Regions from separate parts of the Homo sapiens genome. Here region 2 is linked to region 1. Evidence: promoter capture Hi-C in 16 types of primary human blood cells and fetal thymus (Javierre and others, 2016). All regions are on one chromosome and are shown on one strand. The core of a region is centred on a gene start or on the middle of the fragment in contact, and the rest is flanking DNA. Distances in the headings are between cores, read along the strand shown. Region 1 holds the start of LINC00479 (long intergenic non-protein coding RNA 479). Region 2 has its middle 34 kb from the start of PCSEAT.

Region 1 (3,884 bases), core at 951-3,450:
TTAACCCTGTCTAGGGAGCCTTGGAGGTCTGATGAGGCCAGGGCTTGAAGGAGAGCCGCGGAGCACGCCAGGATCCAGGCTTGTGGGTAGCAGCATCCCTGGAAATGGTCCCCAGTGGGGGAGGAACCAGTAGCCATCACCTCCAACCCCCAGCCACCGCCCCGCGCCATGTGAGTGAGGTGGCATCTGGTTTTCCACACACACCTCCCCATGTCGCTGGACGCAGGCAAGGCCACCCAACCCCCAAGCCAGAGTCACCCGGACAGACGGATACTAGGCACCTTAGCACTTCCATGGCCAGAGGCCTCCTGAGGTGGGAACCGGGTCCTAGCCCATCCCAGGCCATCCCCTCCAGGACCTTCCTGGAGGAGCGGGGAGACCAGACTTAGAGGAAGGCTCCATGTCCCAGGTCCAGACAGGGGTGAGGGGGAAGAGGGGTGAGCACCTGTGTTAGGCACTTTGAACTCTCCAGGTCAGGTGACTGCATCCAGCTGAGACTCCTGGCCTCCCTCCAGCGTGGAATGAGCAGCCGGTCCTGTCCCGTCCACCCCTCCAGTGCTGCGGAACAGAACGGGAATGGCAAGTCCCCATGTGCTGTCTCCCCGCCCTTCTACAGCACCGGTGGCACAAATGCTGGGGACAGTGCCGGCCCCACTCACAGGAGAGCTGCTGGGCTGGCTCCAAGGCTCCTCCGTCCATGGCTGCTGGGCTGGCTCGGAGGCTGCCTCCGTCCATGGTCTCTGCAGTGGACAGTCTGTGTCACGCCTCCATCTGTGGTCTTTGCAGTGGACAGTCTGTGTGACGCCTCCTCCGTCCATGGTTTTTGCAGTGGACAGTCTGTGTCATGCCTCCATCCATGTCTTCCAGCAACACCACCTCACTCTGCTTTACACAATCACTCCACCTCCGTGTAATGCCCAACCTTGTTTTTCCTTTATTCACCTAGCCTTGCTTCTCCCTTAGCTGAGAGAGTCACACAAACTCCATCTTGGCTCTTTCACCGGCAGCCCCTTCCTCAAGGACTTAACTTGTGCAAGCTGACTCCCAGCACATCCAAGAATGCAGTTAACTGATAAGATACTGTGGCGAGCTAGATCCGCAGTTCCCAGGAATTTGTCCGAATGATAACGCCCGAAGCCCCGCGTCTATCACCTTGTAATAGTCTTAAAGCCCCTGCACCTGGAACTGTTTACTTTCCTGTAACCATTTGTCCTTTTAACTTTTTGACTACTTAACTTCTGTAAAATTGTTCTAACTAGACCCCCCTCCCCTTCCTAAACCAAGATGTAAAAGTTAATCAAGCCCCTTCCTCGGGGCCAAGAGAATTTTGAGCGTTAGCTGTCTCTTGGTTGCCAGCTAATAGAGGACTCCTAATTCATCTCAAAGTGTGGCGTTTTTCTAACTCGCTCAGGTACAACATCCCCACATGCCCTGCCCCCGCTTTGTATGCACACAGCACACACCTGTGCACATACAAACATCTGCTTTCACACATGGACACACTCACTGAGGTGAAGAGGCACACTCAGGCACACACACACTCACATTTGGTACATGCAGCTCCTGAGGGGCAAGGCTGAGCTCCTTCTCAGGAACGGACACAAGACTGAGGGCTGGGTCACTCAGATACTTTGCCCCTCGGGCCCCACGGATTGATTTAGGGGTGAACTGTGAATCCCTGGGAGATTCCTTCCTGCCACGCATTCCTGCTGATGGGAAACAAAGCGGTCTTTGAGGGATGCTGGAGGAGGCAGCAGTTTGTGATAAAGAGCTGTGAGAGGAGAAGCCCCTTTGCCACCTGCCCTCCTTTGTGCATTGGATGTTGTCCTCAATGGACGTGATGCCTGGAGTCCCTGCAGCCATCTTGCCTCCATGGGGCAAGCCAGGAAAACCTCACCGACTTAATGGCTTCCCTCCAGCCTTTCCAAAGCCTTGCTCTGGTCTCAGAGAGTTAGGAATTCTGTCACTTAAGGCCCAGAGCATCCTGCTGCTCCCTTCACTCCAGAACCAGAGCCACACGGCTAACAGGCAAAGGGTCAGGAACATAGCCCGTGTTTTCTGCTCTCGGCACTTGGTCATTCTGCATAGAATTTGGCTCCAAGGCCTGGCCTGACACCTTCGCACCAAGGTGCCGTAAATGAAACCTTTACTCCTGAGACTTCCTCACCTCTGCGTTCCCAGGGATCCACAATCTTCTATTTGTAAAATGATTCCCGGTTGTCATGGAGACCAGGGCACCGCAGTGGAGCTGGAATGTTAGGTGGGGTCCAAGGTTCAGTCCTGGGGGTAGGGAGTGGGGCAGGCAGCTTCACTGGGCCCTTTATCTGCCTGATTCTCATCTTTCTTACACAATAGTCTACTCATTATTCCTTCCCTAAGGGCCAGGACACAGGCCTGCCTGGGGTTACAGTCCCTGTCTTTACAAGTCCTCTCCTTCTGGCTCTTGGGCGTGCCTGAGCTCAAAGGAGCCTCCAAGCAAACTTGGCAGGGGGTGTCCCCCAGGGCAGAGGTGGGGCCCTGGCTCAGCACCCCCAGAAACCACAAGGTGGGGGCGGAGGATCCTGCACCTGACCTTCACCTTCGTGTGGATCAGATCAGAGCAGAAGTTCTATTTCTGGAACTGTCAGACCTGCTGACCTCCAGTCAATGGCAGAGGCAGGAAGGCAGGCAGAAATACAAGATGCAGCTCTTGTTACACCTCCTGCACAGACCAACCTAGTCTCGGCTCCACACAGCCACTCACTCTTTCACTCAACACGTGTTTCCGAGCATCTTCTATGTGCCTTTTCTCTATCATCAGATGGGGGCCCCTGCGGTGGGCAGAATAACGGCCACTGCAAAGATGCCAAATCTTATCCCCAGAGCTTCCGCAGAGATCCTGCAGATGTGATTCGAGTCTTCCAGCAACACCACCTCACTCTGCTTTGCACAATCACTCCACCTCCCCACATGTTGCGGAGATTCTCCTGGGTCAGTCGGGGGGTCCAGTGTCATCCTAGGGTCCTTATGAGAGGGAGGAAGGGAGGCGGAGGAGGAGATGCAAGGATGAAGCGAAGGTTGGAGTGATGTGGTCTGCTGCGGGGACCCTGAGGCGTGCAGGCGGCCTCTGGAAGCTGAAAAGACAGGAAGGCAGCTTCTCCCCTGAGCCTCCAGAAGAACCCGGCCCTGCTGACACTGGCCCAGGAGCCCCTTCCCCCATCAGGGCCTGGAGAGGGAAGAAATGACTGTTCACAGATTTTACCCCGCAAGACCCATTTCAGCATTCTGATTTTGAGAACCATAAGACAGTGTGTGTTGTTTAAGCCTCCAAGTCTGTGGATATTCATTACAGCAGCCTTGGGAAACTGACACCACCTCCCCCTAATCCTCCCTCCCGCCCCCACCTACACCTGAACCCTCCCCTTGCTCTTCTCTGCCGATTCACAGGGATTCACACTCTTCCTACTTGCAGCTGTGACACGGGAAACATCCTCCACCAGGTCTTCTCTCACAGTGTGGCCTCTGCGCACAGGTTATCCACCTGTAGACCTGGACGGGACCCTCGAGGCTCCCTACTCTGACCATCTGGTTTTATAGTTGAGGAACCAGAAGCCGAGGCAGGTAACTTGGTGCAGCCTAAAGGCCTCCATCCCTCCAGTGCCCACAACTTAGGTGCCCACGACAACAACACTGGCCTACCGCAAAGACCCAGCCCAGAGGAACAAGGTGCCACTGTATGTCTGAAAAGGGGGCCCTCGGCCTCACTGGGGAGCACCTTCCTCCATCAGGGTCTCGACGGTGAAGAAGCAGGCTGTTTCCATCTTCAGGATACAAGCCATCTGCGCATAGGAAGAGGGTCCAGAGGCTCATCTGGAATCCCTCCTCACTCACTGGACGGAGGACCT
Region 2 (4,268 bases), core at 750-3,249, 100 kb before region 1:
AAACTGGCCCCTGCCAAATGCCTTGAGTTCAGTTGTTCAAATCCCTGCCTTCCTGAAGTGCTGAAGGGGCTGAGTGTGAGCAAAGCAAGGATTGGAGGTCGAGCTCTCTAGGGCTGCGGACATTTGGGAGAATATTTGGGTGGGAAGAATGAACAGCGTCACTCAGAACTAACGGCAGGGGGCAGTGTGGCTCCACAGTCCATCACAGGGCACCCCCCCGCCCCACCGACCCCGACAGTGCCCACAGCCCCTGCCATCCAACCAGGGCTGGGCCTCAGCCTGGGGGACAGCTTCTGTGTAGTTTGGTTCAGAATGTGTCCTCATAAGAAAGGCGGCACCTCCCAGATTCCTTCCCTGCCCTCTGCCGGGAAGTCTTACTGCCAAAACACCCAGGAATGTGTGTCTGCCTCCAGCAACTTTAGCTGCAGGGGCTGGACCTGGCTTTGATGCTGCGGCAGCTGATGGGATCCTGGAGCACAGTGTGGGAAGCTGGCTCCTTAGGCCTGGGAACAAGCCCAGGCAACCGGGCTGGGACTCGCTCTGCCTGGCTGCCTCTCCTACAGCGTGCGTGAACGGGAGGCCAGGATGGCCACAGGCCCCAGGAAACGCAGATCTCATGGGAAGAGGTTGCAGTTTCAGCTTCTGGCTGTGGATGCTCCGGGCAATTTCATGCATTTCCATGAGTTCAGAGAATGGAAGCTCCCCTGGCCCCTCCCTACCACTCTTTGTAAATCAGCTCGCTCCTTCTGTTCATTCATCCGCTCATTCATCCATTCCGCACACGTGCCTTATTGAATCCCTGCTATGACCAGGCACAGGGTTAGATACTCCATGGAGACCAGACCAGTCTTAGCCTCTGCACTGATGAACTCAACCCAGAAGACACACGAAAAGATAAGCCACGGTGTGACGGGCGGACGACAGAGCCTGCGCCGAGACACGGGCACTTCAGCTTGATATGTGGAGAGTGTCGGCTGCAAACCTCCCTGGTCTCTGCCGCCAGACGCATGCCAAGATGGCCTGATTACACTGGGGAAATTTCGAATGGGCCATTGAAATGCGTGGTGTGATTGTTGCCATGGATTTTACGGTCTGGTGGCCTGTTCCGTGCTGGTCAGGCTGACGTCTGTGCTTGGCACAGCATGGTGAGAGACAGGCAGGTGTGGTTGATGCCTCTGGGAGGGAGCACATAATCCAGGAAAGGGGGCAGTAAACCAGGCGATGGGAACTGCAACGGAGCAGAGGCCACGGGAGAAGCCCCAGCGGGGAGCACACCTGAGAGGGACAGTGGGAGGAGCGAGGCCTGAAACCGGAGGAGGAGCAGCAGAGCCCCCACAGAGGACAGCGGAAAGGAGACCTGAGTGGGGAAGAGCTCGGCTCCTTCCAGTCCCCCAGGGACCCAGGTTGGGGCAGAGGGGCCATCGGGCCTGTAACCTTGCAGTGCCATCATGGCCCTGGGTAGAGTTTGGGTCTTATTCTAGGAAGCGTGGGGGCTTGGAATGTCCTGGATGCCACCTGTTTCCTGTGTGGCAGGCAGAGTGAAGACCCCACCATTCCACCAAGATGCCTCCACCCTAGCCCTATTCGCCGTGAGTGCATCATATCACATGCAGAGGGGAGTTGGGGTTGCAGGTGGAACTGGATTGGTGAACACCACCCTTAACCTAAGGAGGAGATCCTGGGGGATCCCGCAGGCCCAGAGTCCTCACAGTGTTCTTAAAAGGGAACTAGCAGCCAGAAGTGTGGCAGTGAGGACCTGATCCAACGTCATTGGCTTTGAAGAGGGAGGAAGGGCCCATGGGCCTAGAAATGAGGACAGCCCCTGGAAGCTGAGAAAGGCGAGGAACAGATTCTGCCCTGGATCCTCCAGGAGGAGCCGGCCCTAGGTCTTAGCCCAGTGAGACCCGTCACAGACTCCCGACCTCCAGCAATGCATTAAATATGCTGTTCATGCTGCTGAGTTTGTGGTCGTTTGCAGGAAGCTGATACACCCTGGCACAAACTCCTTCTCCTCATCTACACTTTAGCACAGAGCCGTTAAATAAATGCATGTGCCTATGAACAGGTGCATTCCAACAGCCCTCAGGCCCTGCGTGTGTGGGTGACGGTGGAGTGACAGGAATGCAAGACACAGAGTGGTCTGTGCAGCCTCCTCCCCCGCACTCAGTGCAGGGTGGGCAAGGGGGATGCTGGCGGGTCCACCGTGTCCAACAGGGAGCAGGCGGCATCTCTAGCCAGGCTCGGGGCCACAGTGGGGGAGTGGGGTTTCAGAGTGAGGCAGATCTGGATCTAAATCACCTTTACAGAATGGCTTTTGCCACATAAGGTCACATATTCACAAGTCCCAGAGATTAGAACAGGCACATTTTGGGGGCCATGATTCTGCTCATCCATATAGAGAACCCCCTTATTATTTTTCACAGGTAAATAGTATTTTATAGTGGGGGAGTTCTGTAAAGGTTTAGCTACTCCTCTATTAAGAATATTTGGCTTCTGGCCAGGGGCTCACATCTGTAATCCCAGCACTTTGGAAGGCTGAAGCCAGAAGATTATTTGAGGCCAGGAGTTTGAGACCAGACTGGGCAACATAGCAAGACACTGTACTTAAAAGATATTTTAAAGAATTTTTTTTAATTAGCCAAATGTGTTGGTGCGCACCTGTAGTCCCAGCTACTTGGGAGGCTAAGGTGAGAAGATTGCTTGAGTCAGTGAGTTCGAGGCTTCAGTGAGCTGTGACTCCTGCCATGGCACTCCAGCTCCAGCCTGGGCAACAGGGAAAGACCCTGTCTCAAAGAAAAGAAAAAGGAATATTTGGCTTCTTTCCAGTCTTTCACCATTATTTAAAATGCCACAAGAAATCATCTCATGCACAATATCATTTTGCACATGTGCAAACAGAGCTGGAGGGCAGATTCCCAGAAGCATAAGCGTCTGGTCAAAAGGTGGATATGCATTCATAGCTTTGCTGGAAATTGCCACTTTGCCTCCAATTTGTACTCTGCCAGCAATATGTGAAAGTATCTGTTTCCCCACTGCCTGCCTAAGGGAGTGTATGTCTCACTTTTGTGTTGTTGCCAATCCAGAAGAAGCATATTGCGTAGACTTTCATTTGAGACTCCATCTTTCTGTGTGGTTTGGCAGAAGACTGGGGGAACATTCTTATACTGGCTCTAAATGGAATGCAAGGATACTGCATTAACTTATGACTCAGTAAAGTAATTTATTTTGGGGAGCTAAAATAATCAGTTTGCTGCTTTCTCATGATTTTTAACTTGAAGCAACATGAAACTGGGAAAATAAAAATGGATAGCAAGACTTTTAGACAATGTCTGTTCAGTGATGTTTCAAACATATTTTTGGCAGGAACTAGAAATCAGTCCATGTAGCCCAAGAATGATGCCAATTCCATATTCTGTGTTGCTGATTATAAAGGAAGCAAAATGTTCCAGTAAGCAGATGCAAAAGCAGCCATCAGCTCTCAGATACAGGAGCAGATGAGCTGGAGACGTCCTCACGCGAGCACCGGCCGCTCTTCCCCATGCTGTGGGCAGCTTGCCTGTGGGAAAGGCCAAAGATTCCTTAAAAAGAGATTCAAATCTGCTCAAGTGCCAGGATAAGCATTTAATCAGGAGCCCAGCATCCTGCTCCCCAATGAGTGGGGAAGATTTTCTAGGCCTGGAAAGTTTTTAAGAGGTAATGTGCTATTCTTAGTCATAACAAATGAAAGACAACCCACATGTCCAGCCAGGCAGGATGGCCAATGGGCTGTTCAGTTGCCAGCTGCCTTCCCAGCCCTCCGGGACAGAGTCTCCTGTGATTCTGGCAGCATCCCCAGGACAGAGCCCTCAGGACCAAGGTAGAAAGCGCTTGGGCAGGGCAGTGGTCTCCCAGTCAGCAGGCAGACCTCCTGGGACCACGGGGTCAGATGTGGGGCCTGAATGACTCCTGAGTCACAGCCCTGTCCCCTCTGACATCTCCCACTCCAATGCCATGGTCTGGCCACGTGCCTTGGCTTCCCTTCCTACACTTCAGTGGTCTAAGAGGATAATTCCAAGAGCCCCTAATCTAGCTCTGGTCTGCCCCTCGTCTGAAGACTAGATTCCTCCACTCACTGCCTAATACACCTGGGCTCCATCCTGTGAATGAAGTAAGTTGTTCAGAGCTACAGTCAAAGCTGCGAGCGGGAATTCTCACAGCTCCTGGGATCTCTCACCAGTTCCAACAAACTTCCCACCTCTCCAAGTCAGACTAAGCCTGAGATGTGTAAC

The links. Contacts are between HindIII fragments. The CHiCAGO score rates a contact against its expected background, and 5 or more counts as called.
Region 2: a contact is called between a fragment that was not itself captured here and the fragment with the promoter of LINC00479 in region 1, in 1 of 17 cell types (M2 macrophages). The highest score is 12.3, in M2 macrophages.

Annotation. Positions count from the first base shown.
Region 1 is chr21:41,713,575-41,717,458 of GRCh38, forward strand. It overlaps LINC00479 (long intergenic non-protein coding RNA 479), which reads right to left and starts at 2,201. Exons shown (of 6, transcript NR_027272.1): 1 at 2,168-2,201; 2 at 1,546-1,709; 3 at 660-778; 4 at 446-558; 5 at 1-98. LINC00112 (long intergenic non-protein coding RNA 112) reads left to right here and starts at 2,862. Exons shown (of 3, transcript NR_024028.2): 1 at 2,862-2,970; 2 at 3,427-3,600; 3 at 3,768-3,884. The HindIII fragment of the contact is 7,368 bases long and covers 1-3,884 here.
Region 2 is chr21:41,612,654-41,616,921 of GRCh38, forward strand. No RefSeq gene overlaps it. Among named protein-coding and RNA genes, the nearest start is that of PCSEAT, 34 kb to the left of the region's middle. RefSeq lists an enhancer at 1-615. The HindIII fragment of the contact is 4,608 bases long and covers 1-4,268 here.